Linked DNA regions of Homo sapiens: all the other regions are linked to region 1. The links are contacts of gene promoters, found by promoter capture Hi-C in blood cells and fetal thymus (Javierre and others, 2016). All regions are on one chromosome and are shown on one strand. The core of a region is centred on a gene start or on the middle of the fragment in contact, and the rest is flanking DNA. Distances in the headings are between cores, read along the strand shown.

Evidence for each region. Contacts are between HindIII fragments. The CHiCAGO score rates a contact against its expected background, and 5 or more counts as called.
Region 2: a fragment that was not itself captured here is called in contact with the fragment with the promoter of DPH5 in region 1 in 4 of 17 cell types (non-activated CD4 T cells, activated CD4 T cells, total CD8 T cells and 1 more); the score reaches 8.8 in non-activated CD4 T cells.
Region 3: a contact is called between a fragment that was not itself captured here and the fragment with the promoter of DPH5 in region 1, in 6 of 17 cell types (activated CD4 T cells, non-activated CD4 T cells, total CD8 T cells and 3 more). The highest score is 11.2, in activated CD4 T cells.
Region 4: a contact is called between a fragment that was not itself captured here and the fragment with the promoter of DPH5 in region 1, in 8 of 17 cell types (activated CD4 T cells, non-activated CD4 T cells, total CD8 T cells and 5 more). The highest score is 14.1, in activated CD4 T cells.
Region 5: a fragment that was not itself captured here is called in contact with the fragment with the promoter of DPH5 in region 1 in 8 of 17 cell types (activated CD4 T cells, non-activated CD4 T cells, naive CD8 T cells and 5 more); the score reaches 16.0 in activated CD4 T cells.

Annotation. Positions count from the first base shown.
Region 1 is chr1:101,023,352-101,027,708 of GRCh38, reverse strand. It overlaps DPH5 (diphthamide biosynthesis 5), which reads left to right and starts at 1,925. Exons shown (of 8, transcript NM_015958.3): 1 at 1,925-2,026; 2 at 2,243-2,400. The coding sequence starts at 2,266. It overlaps DPH5-DT (DPH5 divergent transcript), which reads right to left and starts at 1,863. Exons shown (of 5, transcript NR_109849.1): 1 at 1,648-1,863. RefSeq lists a silencer at 143-202 and enhancers at 1,994-2,103, 1,196-2,395. The HindIII fragment of the contact is 3,765 bases long and covers 1-2,791 here.
Region 2 is chr1:100,898,389-100,902,745 of GRCh38, reverse strand. The region is part of intron 2 of SLC30A7 (solute carrier family 30 member 7); the gene reads right to left. Among named protein-coding and RNA genes, the nearest start is that of SLC30A7, 4.5 kb to the right of the region's middle. The HindIII fragment of the contact is 6,699 bases long and covers 1-4,357 here.
Region 3 is chr1:100,915,193-100,919,549 of GRCh38, reverse strand. SLC30A7 (solute carrier family 30 member 7) reads right to left here. Exons shown (of 11, transcript NM_133496.5): 7 at 1,423-1,473. Among named protein-coding and RNA genes, the nearest start is that of SLC30A7, 21 kb to the right of the region's middle. The HindIII fragment of the contact is 414 bases long and covers 2,104-2,517 here.
Region 4 is chr1:100,933,921-100,938,277 of GRCh38, reverse strand. All of the region lies in intron 8 of SLC30A7 (solute carrier family 30 member 7), which reads right to left. Among named protein-coding and RNA genes, the nearest start is that of SLC30A7, 40 kb to the right of the region's middle. The HindIII fragment of the contact is 2,736 bases long and covers 486-3,221 here.
Region 5 is chr1:101,106,499-101,110,855 of GRCh38, reverse strand. No RefSeq gene overlaps it. Among named protein-coding and RNA genes, the nearest start is that of DPH5-DT, 83 kb to the right of the region's middle. The HindIII fragment of the contact is 2,977 bases long and covers 517-3,493 here.

The sequences.
Region 1 (4,357 bases), core at 676-3,175:
GATTGTTAACTATAACTCTCTGACCCCCTTGAGTGAAGGAGACATTATTATCAGCTACAAGAGTGACAAAATGAGGACCTGAGAATCAAGATGGTGATAGACGGTATGGTTTCTATTGAGATATACAGGCAGACATGACAGACGATGTGGGGGTGACTCCCAAGTGTCTGGCTGGGGTTAATCTGTTGATGACAATACTCTCCTCACCCACCCCCACCCCCGACCCATCCAAGTAGATAATATGGAAAGAAAAGCAAAATGGAAAGGGAAGGTGATGGATTCAACCTTGGATGTGTTGAATATGCTTCCGGGTTATCTAGGTGAAGATTTCCAGCAGAACGTTAACATGAAGCCAAGAGGGAGGAAGTCTGGATAGGAGGCTGAAATTTGAATCTACAAAATATTAGCGATACTAGGAATTCTGAGTGAACAGCCAGTTTTTGTGAGGTTTTGTTTGTTTTACTTAAGCCATTCTAATAGGTGGGTTGTGGTAGCTCATTGTGATTTAAATGTTTATTTTCCTAATGTCTAATGATGTTTAGGATCTTTTTTTGTTTGTTTAAGATCTTTTAAAATAATTATTTGCTATTTGTGTATCTTCTTTGGTGTCTATTCAAATCTTTTGCCCATTTTTAAACAACGAACTGTTTTATTATTGCTTTCTGAGTGCTCCTTATATATTCTCCATACAAGTCCTTCATCAGATACATGCTTTGTAAATATTTTCAGTATGTGGCTTCAAGTCTTTTGAAGAGCATAAATTTTTACTTTGTTGAAGTCCAATTTATCAATTTTTTTCATCACGCTTTTGGTTTAAGAAATATTTGCCTAAATAAGGTCACGAATATTTCCTCCTATGTTTTCTTCTGGTATAGGTTTAGGTTTTCCATTTACATCTACGATCCATTTTGAGTTTTTTGGGGTGTGTATGTGGTGTGAGGAATAGATCAACGTAATGAGAGGGGATAAAACACAGCCACGAAGAGTTTATAGATAGGAAGTGCAAAAAGGTGGATGGAACCTGGGAATGAAAAAAAGCCAAGGTTCAAGGAAGCGGAGTTGGGCATTGTCGGGGAGGCAACAGGAAAATTCTGAGTAACCAACACTGCCTGCTAAGAAAAGCAATGACAGCTGTCTTTTTTAACTTGGATGAGGTCACCTTGGGAAGAGCATTTTCAGTCAAAACAAATCTTCCCTATTTCTAATTACATGTAACCAACAGCTTTATAAGAATTCCCCCGGCAGAAACACTTGAGAGGTCTGAAATCCCTGAGCACTATTAAAGGTCACTTCTTTAGGTACAGGAAGGTCTGGGATTCCTGACACTGAGGGTGACTGAAACATCCTTGGGGCACTCCAGGCATAAGGTCTTGGGGACAAACCCAAGGAGTCATTGCCTTGTTGGGAAATCAGAAGCACACTCACTGCTGGGTTTGCCAATCTCACGCTTCACCAGGAAGACACCTAGTTGAACTACAGGAGGATGAGAAGACTGGAATTAAAATCTGTGCACTCGGCCAAATCCGGGGACAAATCAGGAAAATCCTTCCCAGCCCTCCCTGTTTCTGGAGAGGAGGAGTAGGGCGCAGGGCCCCTCCCGACTCTCTTCCACGTGGCTCCTCTCGAGCGAAGAGCTACTGCACTTACCCAGGCTTAGGAAGCGGGTGTTTAAGCCATGGGTTAGAGGGCTCGTGAGCACGCCCGATCCTTTCCCTGAGGCTATGAAACGGTGGCTCCACGGACTCCTCTCGGCCGACTGACCTTTCGCCGCCCTGCCCCAGCAGCCGGCGGGTTTCTTCAGTGGAGCCGGGCTCTGGTCTCCGCAGCCCAGTAGCCCGCTAGCCCGGCCCCCTCCCGCTAGTCGTAAAGTGCAGTAAAGGCACCAGCATTTTGCGGCACCGTAGGTGAGGCCGGCGGCGTGGGCCTTTTCTCTGCACGGAGCCGGCGCTTTTGCAGTTGCTTCTGCGGAAAGGTGGTAGTTAAGAATTTGTAAAGGCCAGAGAACTACCTACGATTCTCTCAGCGGGTAATTGGCTGCTCCTAGGTTTGTGTAACAAGAGGCAAAACTGGTAGGGTTGTTTAAAACCTCTTATCCCAGTTCTTAAGCGTGACATAAGGTTCCCAAACCCCTCCTTGTGACTTGCCTCTTCTCTTGTGCTACTTTGGTTGTCATCGTGTTCATCACTAGATTTTAGATGTCCTCGGTGTTACTGACGGTTTTTCTGTCCACTTCGTCTTGCAGTCTCTCTTCTCCTCAAGTTTGAAATGCTTTATCTCATCGGGTTGGGCCTGGGAGATGCCAAGGACATCACAGTCAAGGGCCTGGAAGTTGTTAGACGCTGCAGTCGAGTGTATCTGGAAGCCTACACCTCAGTCCTAACTGTAGGGAAGGAAGCCTTGGTAGGTGCTGAGCGTTCCCCAGCCTCCTGGGAAGAAAGCTATCTAACATCTGATTTTCATACACTAAGCTGAACAGAATTTTCAGGTCTGCTTGTTTAAACCCTTTGAAACGCATCCCTTGTTCATTAATGATCTGAGGAGCAGAAGAATGGAAATTTTACACCAACCAAGTGACTTGGAAAATGAAAGGGTGCTTTGTCCTATTTTACAAGTCTAATTTTGTGGCTTTCTCCAGTAAATAGGAAAGCTATTTTATACTCCTGGGGGATAGTTATCAAAACCCCTTATTTCATGAGGTAGTCAAGAAACCCTTTCTGAGTTGAGTGCTAATGAGGAGCTGACACAGCCTTAATGAGTTGGTTATATATATTCAAAAACCAAGCTGAAAGCTTCCCCCTTTGAAGTGTGTCCATAGGGAATGGCGATTGCCTTTTTGTATCCTATCCAGAGAGATCTTATCTTAAATAGACTATCTCCCAATAAGGCTTATACTGATACACTTGTATATATTGAGTGAGCCTGGACTTAATATATAAAAATGTATGAGTATACACTTACATGAGTATACACTAAGTAACCAAAGTATTTGTTAGTATATTATACATTTATAGTTGGCCCTCATAAGGGCCCAGTAAATTTGGGGGAAGGGTCAACTTCAGGTTCATTGTCAAACTCTAAGTAGAATGTAAATCAAAGGATTAATACATATGTTATGGGAGGAGGGAGCAGATTTATTGTCATGTCTTCCAAACAAAAAATAGACTTAAAATTTTTAGGCCTCAGATTACTTTAAAATCTTATAGAAGGAATTAAGAACTGCTACTTGAATTGGCCATGCATTTAAATAAAAGTTGTGTGTAAAGACCAACTTTGATATATACATATATGTGGAGAGAGAGAGAAAATAAGTCTTGCTCTGTTGCCCAGGCTGGGGTGCAATGGTATGATCATGGCTCACTGCAGCCTCAGCCTCCTGGGCTCAAGTATCCTCCCACCTCAACCTCTCGAGTAGCTGAGACTACAGGTGGGTGCCATCATGCCCAGCTAATTTTTTGTATTTTTTGTAGAGACAGGGTTTTGCCACATTGCCCAGGCTGGTCACAAGTTCCTGGACTCTAGTGATCTGCCCACCTCGGCCTCCTAAAGTGCTGGGATTGTATAGGCACAAGCAACCACACCCAGCCTAAGGCCAGCTTTGATTTAAAAAACATTTTTTTTTCTCATTTTTTCACTCTTAGGATAGAACCAAAATATCTAAGCTCGAAATGATGGAAATGTGCGTCTCTAATCAGTGATTAAGGAAAAGTAAAAGGAACTTAACACCTTCAAGAAAAGACAGACAAATAACAAAACAGCAGTTTGATAGAATGAGATATCAGGGGATGGCATAGAGGAAAGTTTGGTTATAGTTTTATCTTTGTTACATGTTAATGTGACCTTGGACAAGTCCTTTAACTTTAGTGTCTTTTTTAAATGGGGTAAAAAACATCTACTTTAGGTGTTCAGCATAATTCTTAGCATAGGTTCTTAACTATGGTATATGGCACAAAACTGTTCAGAAATAGAAATTGTCAATGTTCACATTTCCAAACTTCTCTGAACCTCAGTTTCTTCATTTGTCAAGTGGCAATTACCAGTTGGAGGGTTATGTAGTGTTTTATTGAGATGATGTATATGAAAGTGCTTTGTAAATTTTCAGTGCTAGCTAAATGTTAATTTTGGCTGCTGTTATTTTGTAAAGTATTTTTTTCCAAAGACAAAACTTCTGGAGTTACTACTTACAGAGTCAAGACCTGAAGCTGGACCCAGCCTTACCTACAGTAAATTATGTGTACTTTGTTAAGGTGCTGGAATATCTGTTTCTTCACAGTAATAAGTACTGACATTTATAGAACAGTTACAGAACAGTTACTGTGCACTGTTTTAAATGCTTTACATGTAGATTAGGATTATTATT
Region 2 (4,357 bases), core at 648-3,147, 120 kb after region 1:
AGATACATAGATCACAATGCGAAGATAAGGCAGAGATCAGGTGATGCTCCTACAAGCCAAAGACTGTCCAAGATTACTAGAAAACCAACTGAAGCTACAGAAAGATCATGGAACAGATTCTTCCTCAGAGCTCTCAGAAGAAATCAACCCTGATGACACTTTGATCTCTGACTTCTAATCTCCAGAACTGTGAGACAATAAATTTCTGTGGTTTAAGCCACCTAGTTTGTGGTGTTTTATTACACCAGACTAGCAAACTAACACACACTCCTTTTTTTCAACAAATTTACTTTATATGCACCCAACATAAACCAAATATTGCCATAATGCAAAAAATAAAAATAAAAATAAAAATTCCTTTTGCACAGAATAGCAGTCAGGTTCCTTTTAAAGAGGTGTGGATATAGCACGGCAATTTTAATACTCATCAAAATGAAATTTTATTTAAATTTTAAGTAAATTTAATTAGCATTAAAATGTTATTTTTAGTACTTAATAAAATGTGACTACCTGAAAAACTACTCCCTCTTCTGAGATGGAAGAACATTATGTTCTCTTAAAACACTGCAATATGAGATCTTTTCCCTTAAACTTGATATCATGATTTAAAAATTACCTAGCTGCAAATACACAAACTCATGGGAAAAACAGTCTACTTTTAGCTCTCTGCTGACCTATCACATGTAAAAATATTGCTTATGAGGAAGGTCAATTTTACTGCTCATATTCAATCTTAGCAAATGTTTCTGATTATGAATTATATTTAAACTATAAATTTAAACTATAAATTTCCTTAAAAAATAAAGGTAGCATAGAGAATACCTAAGGTTACATGACTGAAACACCAAAGGTAACTTCAGTAAACCATGATAAAGTAAAGCTGGTTGTGAAAATCCACTTACTTGTCGTAGACTCCTCTTTAAGCACTGCTAGTTTCTCTAAAATGTATTTGTAAACTCTTTTAAATGACTACCTTCTAAAGACATTTTAACATGGAAAACCAGCCGGGTGCAGTGGCTCGTGCCTATAATCCCAGCACTTCCGGAGGCTGAGGTGGGTGGATCACCTGAGGTCAGAAGTTCAAGACCAGCCTGGTCAACATAGAGAAACTCCCATCTACTAAAAATACAAAAATTAGCCAGGCGTGGCTGTACTCCCAGCTACTTGGGAGGCTGAGGCAGGAGGATTGCTTGAACTCAGGGGGCAGAGGTTGCAGTAAGCCAAGATCGCGCCACTGCATTCCAGCTTGGGCAACACAGTAAGACTCCGTCTTAAAAAAAAGAAAAAGAAAACTTCTACGTGTATAAAGGAGAAACCTGAATACATAAATACAGAAGCAAAAACAGCACAAATGTCAATAGAATATATGGCAAAAGAAACTTTTGAAAAGAATTTTATTTAGGGTCTATTGGAGGCAAAAACAAAGGAAGGGAGAAAGAGAACCTATAAATTAAGAGCAACTTAAGAGACATATAAGCTAAATACTATGTATGGATCTTGTTTGATTTCTAATCTGTAAAACCAAATGTAAAAAGAATTTATGAGACAATGAGGGACTCCTGAATACTCGTTAGCTGGATATTAATGAGTCATTAATTTTCATGGGTGATAATGGTTTTGGGTTATGTTAAGGGGGGGTGGATTTTATCTTTTAGAGAAGCATAATGAAATAGTTATGGAAGAAATTACATCTTGTGTCTGCTTTAAAACAATCCAATGGTGGGACAGGGACAACAGATGAAATAAGATAGACCATGTATTGATAAATGTTAAGGCTCAGTGATGGGTACATGAGGTCCATTAAATGCTCTACTTTTACATATGTTTAAAATACCCAGTGATAAAAAATTGTTTAAAAGGTCTATTGGTAACTAAGCTAACGGTATATTTATATTGTTTGTTAAACGTGTTCAAAATTGAAAATAAGGAATCATCATAATTCAGAAATCCCTTACCAGGTACTTTCCATGATGTGGAAAGTCAGGGAAAAACACTGTCAATTTATTATCAGGAAATTAGAAAATTCTTAGAATCCTGACATTAGCAAAGTCAATAAACTAAATGAGTTACAGTGAAATAACCCAGAACTCCACTACATTCCATTATATAGTCCCTTACTTTAAAAAAAATTCTAAGCAAAATGGAATATTTATCTATGTTTTTAAGGTGGGAAATAAAATTATAGGAAAGCAAAAGCCATCACCATAAGCTGGTAAGTAATGCTGCCTTTTGAGAAGGAAAAAGTTGATTTTAAAAGACTAAGATATATGAAAATTTTAATAGAAAAACATGTGATTGATAGAAGTATTTTTCTTCACTAAGGAATTACTTTACAAACATCTGCTGTGAAATATCACACTGAAGTAGAACCAAATAAATGTCTGGTATTGTCTTAAACATTTCTTCAACAAATATTTACTTTGTTAACACAAAGACATTAACCTTTAGAGTTACCTGAGTGTCTTCTATGTCTAAGGGAAAAATGGTTGCAACAGCTTTGGTAAGAAATACTACTGAAATTAAATCTGTTAAAAATGAAGTAAAAATGTAAGAACATAAAAACACAGAAACTATATTGAGATACTAGAAAAAACCAGTGTGATGTTTTTTGGACATCAAACTTGGACAATAGGTGCTGTAGGCTCTGCTGCTCACTTGGGAAGTAAAAAACTCTAGGCCTCAATTTTCCAACTATAGAAGATGACAGGTTAGTTTGTCTCTCTCTCTCTCTCTCTCAAGTCCCACTTCCAAAACCTACACTATCCACATATTCTCTTTCTTCCTTAGTAAAAAATCCTTGACTTTCCGCAGAATACATGGCTGAGTGGAATAAAGACTACATTTGCAACTAGGCATGACCATGTGATAAAATTTTAGTGAAAGCATTGTGTGTTAGCATCCAGGTAAATCTTAAAAAAAAAAAAAATGTGCACACCTTTTACCTCTTTTTATCTGCATTCCAGACATTATGCTGCCAGGGATGACTGAAACACTAGCACCCATCTTGGAAATGAAGTTTTATCTTGTGTAAGCAACCATTATTTTAGGTTTTTGTTTTGTTTTGAAACAGAGTATTACTCTGTTGCCCAGGCTGTGGGGCGGTGGCTCAATCTCGGCTCACTGCAACCTCTGCCTCCCAGGTTCAAGGGATGCTGGTGTCTCAGCCTCCATGTAGCTGAGATTACAGGTGTGCAGAGTTTTTCTGTAACTTGAAAACAAACTTAACCGTAGATGATACAAAACCACATTGTTACACTATGTTACCTTGAGATTAGTCAGTTACTCAACAATAAATTAGTAAATGAAAAATAAAATACTAGAAGGAAGGGAAAAATCACATAGAATTTCTACCATTTTCCTCCCAATTTCTAAGAGTGAGAGAATGGAATTTAATGTTTTGTCATTGCTGTTTTTCCTTAACGGGGTAGTTACCATTTTTAGTATAGGTAGTGTAATTCCATACATTAATTATTCCCTCATTCTTTCATTTAGCAAATATGTATTAAGCATCCACTATGTGCTATGTACTGAAGTGCCTGCATAAGATAGAAAAGATCCCTACATTAATACAGTTTACGTTCTAGTGGGAAGGTGAAAGGTAGCAGATATTTATTGAGGGGAAAAACACACAACAACTACCTATTGTTCCACTGAAGAGACCTACTCATCATCTAAAATATAAATCAACTATAATTAAGTTCTTCCTTTAAAATGAAGGCTCTGAAAAAGAACCAGAACAATTTAACATTTGTTAAAATTAGATCAACTGCTTCTATGAACCTTTATTTGTGAAGTGAGTGTTTTATTCACGTTTCAGTCCTCTATAGGAAAAAAATTCTTGGTTATTTCATGTTCTCAACAAGTTGAAATTTATTTTTACAGAATGAAATTCAACAAGGAATTGACTAATACACAAAATGAGTTTTGGAAGAAATTTAATCAAGGAACTGAAAAGCTAATATAACCTACAGGAACACAGATAATCTTCTGGTCATATAAAGAAATTATTGATCAGTCAACAAAAGGAACTAAAAATTTTGGTGTCTAAATAAAACACAGAAAGCCAGATTATTAAAAGGCCAGAGAAATGCCTAAATCTGCCCAAATATCAATGACAAGAGATCTGTATTAAAAATTAATATTTAAGAATAATTGGTTGTAGATCTGGAGATTAACATAAATAGGCATGAGATGACGGATACGTGCTAAATGAACTAAGTACAACATGCACTGGAGCTAGATTTCAAATCTAGCTAGAAGACATAACACAATGAAAAACAGTATATAAGCTGCACTAGTAAAGAAAAGCAAGTCCCCTAAGGGTAAAAGAACAAGTCGACTACAACTAATGTTTTTG
Region 3 (4,357 bases), core at 1,061-3,560, 110 kb after region 1:
TAAAACAATTCCATATCTTTTGTAAATGGAAAACCTGTGATTGGAAGACACATTTAAGCCTTCTGAAAATAAATTTCTCAGTATGAAGGAATATATTCACAGTGAAAAAATAAAAAACGAGAGTTATATAAAGAAATAGTGAAGACAAATAGGTGCAGTTGAGATTGGATCAGAAGCCATTCAGAAAGTCAGACTGAAGTCAAAAGTTAATAAAGGCAAGTAGATAGCTGGGAATTAGGAAACCCTGACAATAAAGTCTAAATGGAAACTCAGAGCCAGAGATTGATTAATAACCTACCGCCCCACCCACAAAAACAAAACAAAACAAAAAAAAATTACTATAATTCATAGACAGGATTTTCTCTGGCATGTAAAACTTTGTAATATACAATTTTACACATGTATTAGCTATTGATGGCCTACAAATATTATGGAGTTCTCACTTTGCATTAAATCTTTAGCTCTAAATTTTCCCACAACATAAAAACATATTAAATATTATTCTTGGAAAAACTACATAATAATCCTGTAAAAGCAAACATACTCCTACAGACAGTCCTCGACTTAAAATGATCAACTTATGACTTTGGCTTCATGATGGTGTGAAAGCAGTATGCATTCAGTAGAAACTATACTTCAAATTTTGAATTTTGATCTTTTCCTGGGCTGGCAATAATGTGCTATGATCATCTCTCATGATGCTGGGCAGCAACAGCAGGCGGCAGCTCCCAGTCAGCCAAGCAATCACAAGGGTAAACAACTGATACTGTACTCTACAGTGGACTGTATTAAATAAATTACATGAGATATTCAACACTTTATTATAAAATAGGCTTTGTGTTAGATGATTTTGCCCAACTGTAGGCTAATGCAAGTGTTCTGAGCACATTTAAGGTAGGCAAGGCAAAACTATGATGTTCGGTAGGTTAGGTGTATTAAATGCATTTTCAACCTACAGTATCTTCAATTTACCACGGGTTTATTAGGACACAACCCCACAGTAAATCAAGAAGCATCTATACAATGTTTATAGTCACAGGCATGGGTATTACTTATATTCAAGCAGAATAGTTTCCGAATCTTTTTGAGATACGAGTCTCATATGTTCCCCAGGGTGGTCTCAAACTCTTGGGCGCAAGCAAGCAATTCTCCTGAGTAGCTGGGATTGTGGGGACATGCCAAGTGCACCCAGCTCTATATTTTGCTTTTATTATCAAATCAGAGAAAACAGTCAAGTGACAATTAAAAGAATGTCTGCTAATATATCTAATAGTATATAAAAAACAATCACTAGAAAGGCTAACACTAAACACAAACACTATGTTTTATATTTTTCTTAAAGGAAAACTTCAGACAACTAAAACTTCAAAACTATAAAAGCAGTTTCAAAAAACTAAGAAACATAAAAATTGCTTGTCATACCTTGTAAAATCTGTCTGCTGGGTCCTGTTGTTTCTTTTAAGGACGGGCCATCTGTAGAGAATTAAGTTATTTTAAAACATGTTTTCAATTCCTCATTCAAGTTTTTACAATTCAGAGTCCTTTTCATTCAAATGCATCATCAAGAATGCATGGCTATATAGCCATATCAAACTTACAAATTTATTTTTTAAATTTAATAAAATAATTGAGTGGAGGTAAATTTAGTGGCAGTAGTTTTAAAATTCATCAAAAGTATGGAGTATTTCAGAAATTATTGTATTAAAAAGATTAAAAGCACAGGAAATTAAAGACATTGTGAAAATCTTCCAGTATTCATAAAATATCTTTTAATACTCTTACAATTGGAAAATTCAGAGAAACCCAAATGTACTGCTTGAAGTTATGAGGTCCAAGAAATGAAGCCAGGATAGAAAGATAACTTGACTATGGTAAACAGTAGTTTTCAACAGCTTCTAGATTAATGTGGCAAACTCTTGATACAGAAGAGATAAAAATAATTTTTTTCATTTTGCTTTTATGATGACAAAATGCTATAATTTCTATCTCTAAACATCTTGAAAATTACTATTCAGCTTTAACATTAAAACAGAAAATATAGGAAAACAAGGCAAAAGATGAGCAATATTTGTTTAAACAGATCATCAGGAAGACTGACAAGCTTTCTGATCACAACTAACAATGTACCTACTATCATCATTTGTTCATGGCCCACAGCACCAAAAAGGTCAAGGTACCCTTATCAGTACAGCTTTGATAGAGCATTATAACAATGTTCTGCAATAATGTAACAAAGAAATATAAAAGCATAACACCATATAATATTTCCTATCTAGATATTGTACTGCTGTATGGGAATGAAGAAGTAGCTACCCTGAAAAATCCAGCTGATAGCCAAAAGTGTAAGAGATATGCAGTTTTTCAACATTATTTTGGGATGCATGTGAGCAAAAAAGTTGGAAAAGCAAGGTTTTAAAGCATACCAGTGTAACTGTTATAAAAATACAGGATATTTTAGAGACTGACACAGGCAACAGGCAAAAATAGACAAGAAGGATTACATCAAATTAAAAAGCTTCTGCAAGGCAAAGGAACCAAATAACAAAATGAAAAGGCAACTTACAGAATGACAGAAAATATTTGCAAACTATGTATCTGATAAAATATATACAGAACTCACAATCAACAGCAAAGGTAAATAAATAACCTGATTTTAAAATGGTCAAAGAGTTACAGAACGACAAACATTGCATGTTCTCACTTATTTGTGGAGTACAAAAATTCAAAACAATTAAACTCATGGAAGCAGAGAGTAGAAGGATGGTTACCAGAGGCTGGGAAGGGTAGTGTGGTGCTGCAGGAGTGAGGATGGTTAATGGGTACAAAAAAAAAAAAAAAAAAAAAAGAATGAATGAATAAGATTTACTATTTGATAGCACAACAGGGTGACTACAGTCAATATTAATTGTACCTTTCAAAATAACTAAAAGAGTGTAACTGGATTGTTTGTAATACAAAGGATAAATGCCTGAGGAGAAGGATACCTCATCTCCATGATGTGATTATTTCACACTGCATGCCTGTATCAAAACATCTCATGTACCCCATAACAATATACACCTACTGGTTGGGCACAGTGGCTCACACCTGTAATCTCAGCAGTTCGGGAGGCCAAGGCAGGTGGATCACGATGTCAGGAGATTGAGACCATCCTGGCTAACACGGTGAAACCTCGTCTCTACTAAAAATACAAAAAGTTAGCTGGGTGTGGTGGCACACGCCTGTAATCCAGCTACTCGGGAGGCTGAGGCAGGAGATTCACTTGAACCCGGGAGGCAGAGGTTGCAGTGAGCCGATATCGCACCACTGAACTCCAGCCTGGGTGACAGAGCGAGACTCCATCTCAAAAATAAATAAATAAATAAATAATAAGAATATACAGCTACTATGTACCCACAAAAATTAAAAATAAAAAAATTTATTAAAAAAATAAAAAAGTAATAAATGGCCGAAGGAATAAAATAGACATTTCTCCAAAGAAGACATACAAATAGCCAACAGGTACATTAAAAGATGCTCAACATCACTAATCATCAGGGAAATGCAAATCAGAATCACAATAAGATATCATATCATACCTGTTAGGATGTCTATTACCAAAAAAGCAAAAGACAGTAAGTGTTGGGAAAGCTGTAGAGAAAAGGAAACCCTTGTATACTACTGGTGGCAATGTAAACTGGTGCAGACACTATGGAAAACAGTATGGAGGGTCCTCAAAAAAACAATAATGGAACTACCGTATGATCAGCAAACTGGGTATATATCCATGAGAATTGAAATCAAGAGCTCAAAGAGATATCTGCACTTCCGTATTCACTACAGCATTATTCACAATAGCCAAGACATGGAAGCAAGCTAAATGTCCATCAACAGATGAATGGATAAAGCAATGTGGTATATACATACAACGGAATATCATTCAGCCTTAAAGAAAGAAAGAAATCCTTCTAATTTTGACACATGAATGATCCTGAAGGACATTATGCTAAGTGAAATAAGCCAGACACAGAAGGACAAATACTACATTTATATCACTTATATAAGGAATCTAAAATAGTCAAACTCATAGCAACAGAGAATAGAATAGTGGTTGCCAGTGGTTGGAGGAAGTTGGAAAAGGGGAAATATTAGTCAAAGGGTACAAAGTTTCAGTTGTGCAAAATAAATAGGTCCTAGGGATTTGTATGGCATAGTGCCCATAGCTAATACTGTATTGTATACTTAAAAATCTGCCAAGAGTGTAGATCTTATGTTAAGTGCTCTTACTGCAAAAGTAGAAAGAAAGAAAGAAAGGAAGAAAGAAAGAAAGAAAGAAAGAAAGAAAGAAAGAAAGAAAGAAAGAAAGAAAGAAAGAAAA
Region 4 (4,357 bases), core at 604-3,103, 89 kb after region 1:
AATCCCAGTGACATTTTTTTCTAGAAATAGAAAAATCTATCTTAAAATTCCTATGGGATCTCAAGAAACCCATAATAGTCAAAACAATCTTGAAAAAGAACAAGGTTGCAGGTCTCACACTTCCTAATTTCAAGTTACTACAAAGCAATAAAAACAGTGTGGCACTGACATAAAAACAGACATATAGACCACTGGGATAGAACAGACAGCCCAGAAATAAACTCTGACATACATGGTTAAATGGTTTTCAACATAGATGCCAAGGCAATTCAATGGGGAAAGGACAGACTTCTCAATAACTGGTGATGGGAAAACTGGATTTTTACATGCAAAAGAAGGAAGCTGGACCCTTACCTCACACCATATATAAAAATTAACTCAGAATAAAATGTAAGACCTAAAACTATAAAACTCTTAGAAGAAAACATAGGAGAAAGCTTCATGACATTGGTTTGGTTGATTTCTCAGATATGACACCAAAAGCTTAGGAAACAAAAGAAAAAACATGAAAATTAAGGCAAATCATGGAAAAAGAGAAAATATCTGCATATTATACATCTGATAAAGAGTTAATATCCAGAATATATAAAGAACACCCACAATTCAACAACAACAAACAATTTAAAAATGGACAAAGTATTTGAATAGACATTTTCCCAAAGATATACAAAATGGCCAATAAGTACAAGAAAAAATGTTCAACATCAGTAATCATTAGGGAAATGCAAATCAAAACAATAAGACCACTTGATACGCATTACGTTAATGGGTTTTCTGGTAGATAAAAACAGAAACAAAAAACAAAAATAAAAACAAAAACAAAACAAAACAGAAAATAACAAGTTTTGGAAAGCATGTGGAGAAATTACAACCCTTCTGCATTGTAGGTGAAAATGTAAACTGGTGTGGCAGCTATGGAAAAGAGCATGGCAGTTTCTCAAAAAATTAAAAACAGAATTACCATATGATCCAGCAATTCCACTTCCAAGTAAATACTCAGATGTTTAAATAAATAATTCAAAACCTCCCACAGATGTTTTGAATTATTGACACAAATTTGCAATTGAGCAGTTTCTTACATGGGTACATAGTATGTCTGCAGGTAGTAATAGCAGATTTTTATTTACTTTTAACATTGATTTATTTCTTAGGAATACTGAGAAGGTAAATAAATAATAAGAACATGTAAAATGCTAAGCAAAAATGAAGAGCTACACAGGCATTCCTACATGCATAGATATAGATATAGATACAGATAATCTATGTGTATGAGTATGAGTAAATATACTAAATCTATGTGTATAAGTAAATATTCAGAAGTGGAATCATTCAGTCTTAAAAAGAAAGGGTATTCTGACATATACTACAAAGTGAATGAAACTTGAGGACATTATTGTAAGTGAAATAAACTAGTCACAAAAGGCCAAATATTGTATGACTCTACTTTTATAAGGTACCACTTATATATTTCACAACTTCATAGAGACAGAAAAAATAGTGGTTGCTAGGGGCTGAGGTGCAGGGTGAATTGGGAGTTATTGCTTAATGGTTACAGAATTTCAGTTCTGCAACATGAAAAGAGTTCTGTGGATGGATGGCAGTGATGGCAGCACAACAATGTGACTGTACTTAATGCCACTGAACTGTATACTTAACAGTGATTAAGATGGTAAATTTTATATTATGCTTATCACAATTATTTTGAAAAGGTAGACATTAGTAGGCAAGATTTTCTAAGGAAAAGATACTTGATGAGCAGAGATACAGAGGTATAAGCTAACTTAACATGCTCTAAAAAGTGCAAACAATTTGGTACCACTGAGACTTAGGGCAGGAGTCTTCAAATTAAGAGTACATATAGGAGTGTGTACTACATTTCACAATTCTGGTGACATTAATCACAAAAAAATACCCTTGGGGATACCCATATACTTTCTGAAAGATGTTTAGAATAGTTATAAGAGAATAAAATATCAGATCCTCCACTTCCATAGGTACTCATTCCAAAACTGACCAGACACCAGACTGAGACAATTGGTCTAGTAAATTAGTAAGTTCTCTATTGCTCCCCTCCCATTTCACAATTACCACTTCAGCCGCTTGACAAAAGAAAAGCATGTAATTCACCCATAGAAAATACTACTATGGTAAACTGTGCCAGAGTTTGAAAATCACTGGAGTAGAAAAAAAAAAAAGAAAAATGAAAAGAAGACAATTTAAAATATTGGTATCTGGTAAGCCTTTAATAAAACCCTTTGTCTCTGCTCATAAACCTGAGGTATAGTTTTATGGCTTCTCTGTTTTATGTAATTCCTATTAAGGGCAAAGAGTGGTATTAGGAACAAGGTATTCTGGCCCATATATTAGGAACGTTCTGAGTTCAGACATATTGTAAAGTGGGATGACTAAAGTAATGATAGGTTTAGTAATAATCCCTCTTCTATTGTCCCCCAGATACTGACAAAGAATATGTCACTCCTGAGAGAAGTCCCAAGAAACCTTTGTCAAACAATAGTAAAAACCCGTATCTCTTTAATGTCATTTATTTACACAATATACAGACCTTAAAATAAAGCTATTAATTTTTTTTAGAGGAAAGCTGGGAGTATTGGTTAAAAAACAGTAAACAGCTTGAACAATTCCAAGCCATCATCAAAGTTGGCTTTAAAAACCTCATATAAAGTATTGTCACTCACTATGATAGTTAAGAAATCACATTTGATAGTGATTATTCCAGTGCATAGGTGATAGCCAAAAATAAGTTAGTCACCAAGTCTATCACTATAGCTCCATTCCCTATTCCAAAACCACTCTGCTTCATAAAATGCATAAAATGGCAGAAGACACACTTCACCAGATTGTAGCAAAAATCGTAAAAAGAACTAGTTTTGGTTTCTGAAAAGTTTAAACTGACTTGCATAAAGCACTGGATGTAACTATTAGAAACATACTAGAATTCATGCCTATAAAAAGTACTATGTGAGGAACCCAGGTTTTGATGCAGTCAAAAGACGGTTGTCATTTGTGTAACTGAAAAATGAAGCAAGACTTTCTCTGACAGAAAGAACTTTCTCTGAAAGTATGATTTGACTGATTGGGTTGACAATGAAGGCTAGTTCTGACAATTAGGTTATATAGAGGGTATTTCTAAAAATAAATGAGCTAAATTTGTAGTGGGAAGGCTTTGATTAGCATATATTAAACACAAATAGTTTGAAGCTTCAAATATGAGCTAAAAATAGAAAATCATGGCACTGAATTTTTTTTTCTTTTTGTGGGACAGAGTCTTGGTCTGTCACCCAGGCTGGAGTGCAGTGGCAGTGGCGTGATCACGACTCACTGCAGCCTCGACTTCCCAAGCTCAAGCGATCTTCCCACAGATGTTCTGAATTATTGACAAAAACTTGCAATTGAGCAGTTTCTTACATGGGTACATAGTATGTCTGTAGGTAGTAATAGCAGATTTTTATTTGCTTTTAACATTGATTTATTTCTCAGCAATACTGAGAAGGTAAACAAATTACAAGAACATGTAAAATGCTAAGCAAAAATGAAGAGCTACACAAGCATTCCTACATACATTTATATATATAAATATATATATATATAGGTATTGATATAGATACAGATAATCTATGTGTATCCTCACTAGATGTGTTCTGCTTCTTCCATTTACACAAAGAGATAGTTTAAATAGTTTCTTAGGAAAATATTATATTTCCACACCTTAAGAAGATGTAACCTCTGACTTCCTTATTCTTTTTACCATAATATGAAAATATCTAAGCAGTTTATCTGGATAATAGAGCAAAGAAAAGATGAGAGTCCTATATTCTTATAGTTCATAACCTAAATGGCCCCTTATTGCCTTCTCTAAGTGTGCAATATTTAATTTCTACTTTCTAGTAATCTCTGTTCTCAGGTCCTGATAACTTCCTGTCTCTATATCCTTGAAGTAGGCCATATTCTGAGAATTCTTATTTTCCATTATTAGCCTTGGCTTTTAACATGCTAAAGGTATCATGTGTAAACACTCCATGAAGTGGTACTTATTTGTACAACCATGAAAATTAGAATAAAGTCAAAAATCCACACTTGAGAAAACAGAGGGGTCCAGAAACTTGAGTGTCACAAAGCCAGAACTACAAGTCAAGCCTGCTGAATCTCAATCTAGGTCACCAAAATTCCACAAATATTACTGTGCACCAAGCACAATGATATGATACAGAGCTGAACAAGACTCAGTCCTATGCTCATGTACTGGTATGTACACGTATGTATATAGAGATACACTATGCCACCATTTATGAAAACAATAACTTGACAAATTTAAAGGTAAAAACAAACAGTTTAGAAA
Region 5 (4,357 bases), core at 756-3,255, 83 kb before region 1:
GGGTCAAAGGCTGGCTCAGAATGTAGTCACTTGAGATAAAATGGCAAGAAGAAGACGGAATAAACTGTGTGTAAGGAGGAACACTGAGGCTCACAGGTGAATGGACCAAATCCACGGTGAGGTGTTTCCGAGGCAAGTTCTAGGCTAGAAATGGGAGCAGAAGGCAGAGTTTGTAGTCTAGGTATGCAATGAGGAAATAATAATTGGGGAAAACAAGGGAGAAGAGGTTTTAGAATCTGGGATTGATAAGGGCTACTTTCCTGAAGTTCCTCCATTTTGAGTGCAGCTTGGGTAAAAGGCAGGACACAGTCAGGGTACAAAGGCACTCCCTCAGCTTGACTTCTGGAGTTTTCTACAGTCTCATCTTTGTCTACATGCTCTATTCAATGATGCATGCTTCATTCATTTATTAAACAATCATGTTTCATTGCCTATGGTGAACCAGGCACTAAATGCATGTGTTAAGGGGAGAAAACACAACTGTAAACGAGCAACAGTCCCAGCACTCAAGAAGCTTCCAGTCCAAAAGGAAAAACAGACATATAAACAAATAATGAGTATGGAAGCGATCTAGGGAAGTATGTACAGGTGCTATGGGAGCTCAGAGGAAATCTTTGCTTGAGTCTACTTGGGAAGGTGGTGGTTGATATGGGAAGGTCTTCAGGGAAAATTCAGTAAAACTGAAACTGGAAGTTTGGAGTAGAAGTTTACCAAGCAAACAAGAAGGACAGCAGTGATTGAAGCAGGTAGAAAGATTAACTAAACAGCAACATATTAAAAGCTAAGTTACATGAAAATGGAGGATATATTCAGAATTTAGGTAGCCCAGATAAAATGGGAATAAGTCGTGAGATATATGGCTGACACTGCAATTAATGGCCTACACTTGATATCCTATGGTGAGGCAGGGTGAGGGTAGAAGGCCATACAGATTTGTCCCCTTTTGTGAAGCCTAGCAGGCATCTTTCACCAGTGGGTCCTTTTCACCTGCACCTTTGTGCATCAGCACCTAACTCTTTTGCAAGATAGGTGATCCTACATTATATGAGCAGACCACCAGATGGTTACAAGTTTCTGATACCCAGGATGGCCCGGGAAAGAGAACAGAAGCCCCATATTCCTGATGTAGCTTCCCCCATCTCCAGCCAATCAGCACCAAAAGCCCAAGAAGCTATTAGCTACAAATTCCTGCCTGGAGGTTGGGGGACAGGGACTTCTCCAGGATCCCACATATGCAACAAGTGTCAAGTTTTAGCTTATATTAATAGTAACATTTTCCTCATTTTAATAGTAAAAAAGACAGCCCTAGGTGGAGATTTTATTTGCTAATGTTACATGTGATACCTGTTAAAGCATGTAGATACTGAGTACATGTGCCAGCTGCAGGTCTACCTTTACATACTTGACCTCACCAGTATTTTATGAATATGTATGTACCACTCCCATAAAAGAAATTCCTCCTAAGGCACTAACTGCTGTCTCTCCCTTGGAGTAACCCATTCTGCCTCTCAAAGTGCACTTTTGCTTTGCAATAAACTTCTTTGCTTACTCTTACTTTGGACTCATTCTCAAATTATTTTGTGAAGCAAAAACAAGAACCTGAACTGGCTTACTGGCAACAATGGGACCTACTAAAATTAAACTAAACTGCAAGATAAGTTGGGTGGTGAGAAATACAGATACCATGAATTTGAACCAAGATATTAGCAAAAGGGAAGGGAGGAAGGCACACATTCAAAAAGCAAGATGGAGGAAGAATTGACAGAATGTAGTGGTATGACAGCATGTGTAGGGTAAGATATGGAATGATCATCTATGAATCCTGAGTTTCTGGATTATGTGACTAGATTGGATAGTGGTGCATTTATCAATATTGGGAAAACAGGAGAAGTAGCAGGTGTGGAAGAGATGAGTTCAGTTTTATACATATTGAGCTTGAGCTCAACCTCAGAACGCCCCAAACTGAATGCATTGATGTAGGAAACCATGTGAAGAGGCTAGTTAGGTAATTGAAAATACGGCGGGGTCATGACCTGAATGCAACACTCTTCTCTAGTTCTGCAAAGAATGTGGAATGCACTCTTACCTTTTGATTCCGACAAGGCTGTTTCACACATGACTTATTCACAAAGGTTCATCATATATTAATATTTCACTCTTCAATGCCAATACTCACTTTTATTTCTTGTTTAATGCCTAATTCAACATAAGAGTTTTGGCTAAAGGAAGAGTAAAGTCCCTTCTAATGTTGTGATATGTATGCTTGAGTAAAACCTATGCCATTAACAAAATTCAAAATTATTTTTAAAAGACGAAAACATATGTTTCTGCTTCTTGCTATGTAAAAGACACTTAGCCAGTTTCTTCTTGGGGAATTAACTGTGTAGTCTTAAAGTGAGAACTAAGACTTGGGCAGCCCAGCACATGAGTGAGGTGAGTCAGATGGTTGCTCATGGCACTTCGTAGGTATGAGTGATGCCAGGACTGGAGGACGGTGGCAGCAGTGGTGGTGGCACCCTGATCAGACCATCCAGCGTGGATGCAATAACTCCCAGCTGCTTCATGCTTTTTGGCTCTGGTGACCTTTTGGTTCCTGCCTATTTACAAGCCTCCCATGCCCCAGTCTCCTCTAAGTTCTGTGACCCTGAAGCCTTCTCTAGAAATTCCCTTCACTTCAGTTAGCCAATTAGTTTCTGCCACTTTTGATAAGAAACCTGGCTGAACATCAGAATAAATTAAGTCATTCAATCAATAAGAAAATACTATTTATTTCCTAAGTAAATCTACAATTGAAATAAAGTAATGATTACTACTAAACCCATGGAACATAGCCCATAATCAGAAAAGACCTTAACAGTGAGTTAGTTCTTTTTAAAAGATGATTTTATTCGCTTATCTTTAATTCACTGCAAGACACATTGCTTCCTGTCTGGTTTATACTCTCTACAGTGAGTCAGGCATAGGTAGGATGTTTCTAGTAAAACCTGTTAAGCTGATTAAGGAGTAATTTCAATAGCATTTTTTATTTTGTTTTAAATTATAAAAGATTTATTTTTCTGCAGGTCAATATCTGAATAGGAAAGGGATATCACTCTTATAAATTTAGTGTGTGTTAGAACATGTGACCTATGAGTGAGAACAGCATGTTCTCACCCATAGGTGGGAACTGAGCAATGAGAACACATGGACACAGGAAGGGGAACATCACACACCAGGGCCTGTGGTGGGGTGGGGGGAGTGGGGAGGGATAGCATTAGGAAATATACCTAATGTTAAATGACGAGTTAATGGGTGCAGCACACCAACATGTCACATATGTAACAAACCTGCACATTGTGCACATGTACCTTAAAACTTAAAGTATAATAAAAAAAAAATTTTTAGTGTATGTTTTTTTCACCCTACTGCACTTGCTCAGGCCTCTAGAACAAGGCTGAATATAAGTGGTGATAGTGATTATCCTTGCCTTCCTCCAGATATTAAAGATAAAGCTTTTGGCATATCTCCAGTAGGTATTATATTTGCTAATTGTTTCTTTGTAGAGACCCTTATCAGATTAATGAAGTTCCTTTATATTCCTAGTTACAATTTTTCGGTTTATCAAAAAAGGATGTTATATTTTATCAAATGCTTTTTCTGCATCATTGAGATAATAAAATGTTTCCCTCGTAATTTTCTCTTCTCATAATGTCCTTGAATTTGGGTGACAAGGTTATGCTGGTCTTCTGAAACAGAAAGAAAGTTGCTTACTTTCTATTTTATGGAAGAGTTTGTGTTAGAACAGATCCTAATCTATCAGAATAGATTCTAACAGAAGAGATTCATCTTTTCCTTAAATTTTTGATGCAATTCACTGGTAAAGTTATCTGGACCTGGACTTTTCTTTGTGGAAAGGATTTTGAACATGAATTCATTTTCTGTAACAGTTATTAGAATGGTTACTATTCAGTTTTTTGTCTTTTTTCTTTGCCTTTAGTATAGTATGTTTTCCTAGGAACTTGTCCATTTGAAATTTTCATCTAAATTTTCAAATTTATTGACAAAGTTGTTTATGATAATATAATAAAAATATACTCTTATTATCTCTTTCAAGTCTGCATTTGTTATTTGTGTTTTTTCTCTTATTTTCTTGGTCAGTCTAGTCAGTGGCTTATCAATTTTGCCAATTATTCCAAAGAACCACCTTTGGGGAGTAACTGCTAATGGCATAGGGCTTGTTTTTGGATTGATAAAAATATTCCGAAATTAAATAGTGATGATGGTTGTATAACTCTGTAAATATACTAAAAACCACTGAATTGTACATGTTAAAAGGATGAATTTTATGTATGTGACTAAAACTGTTATTTAAATATGT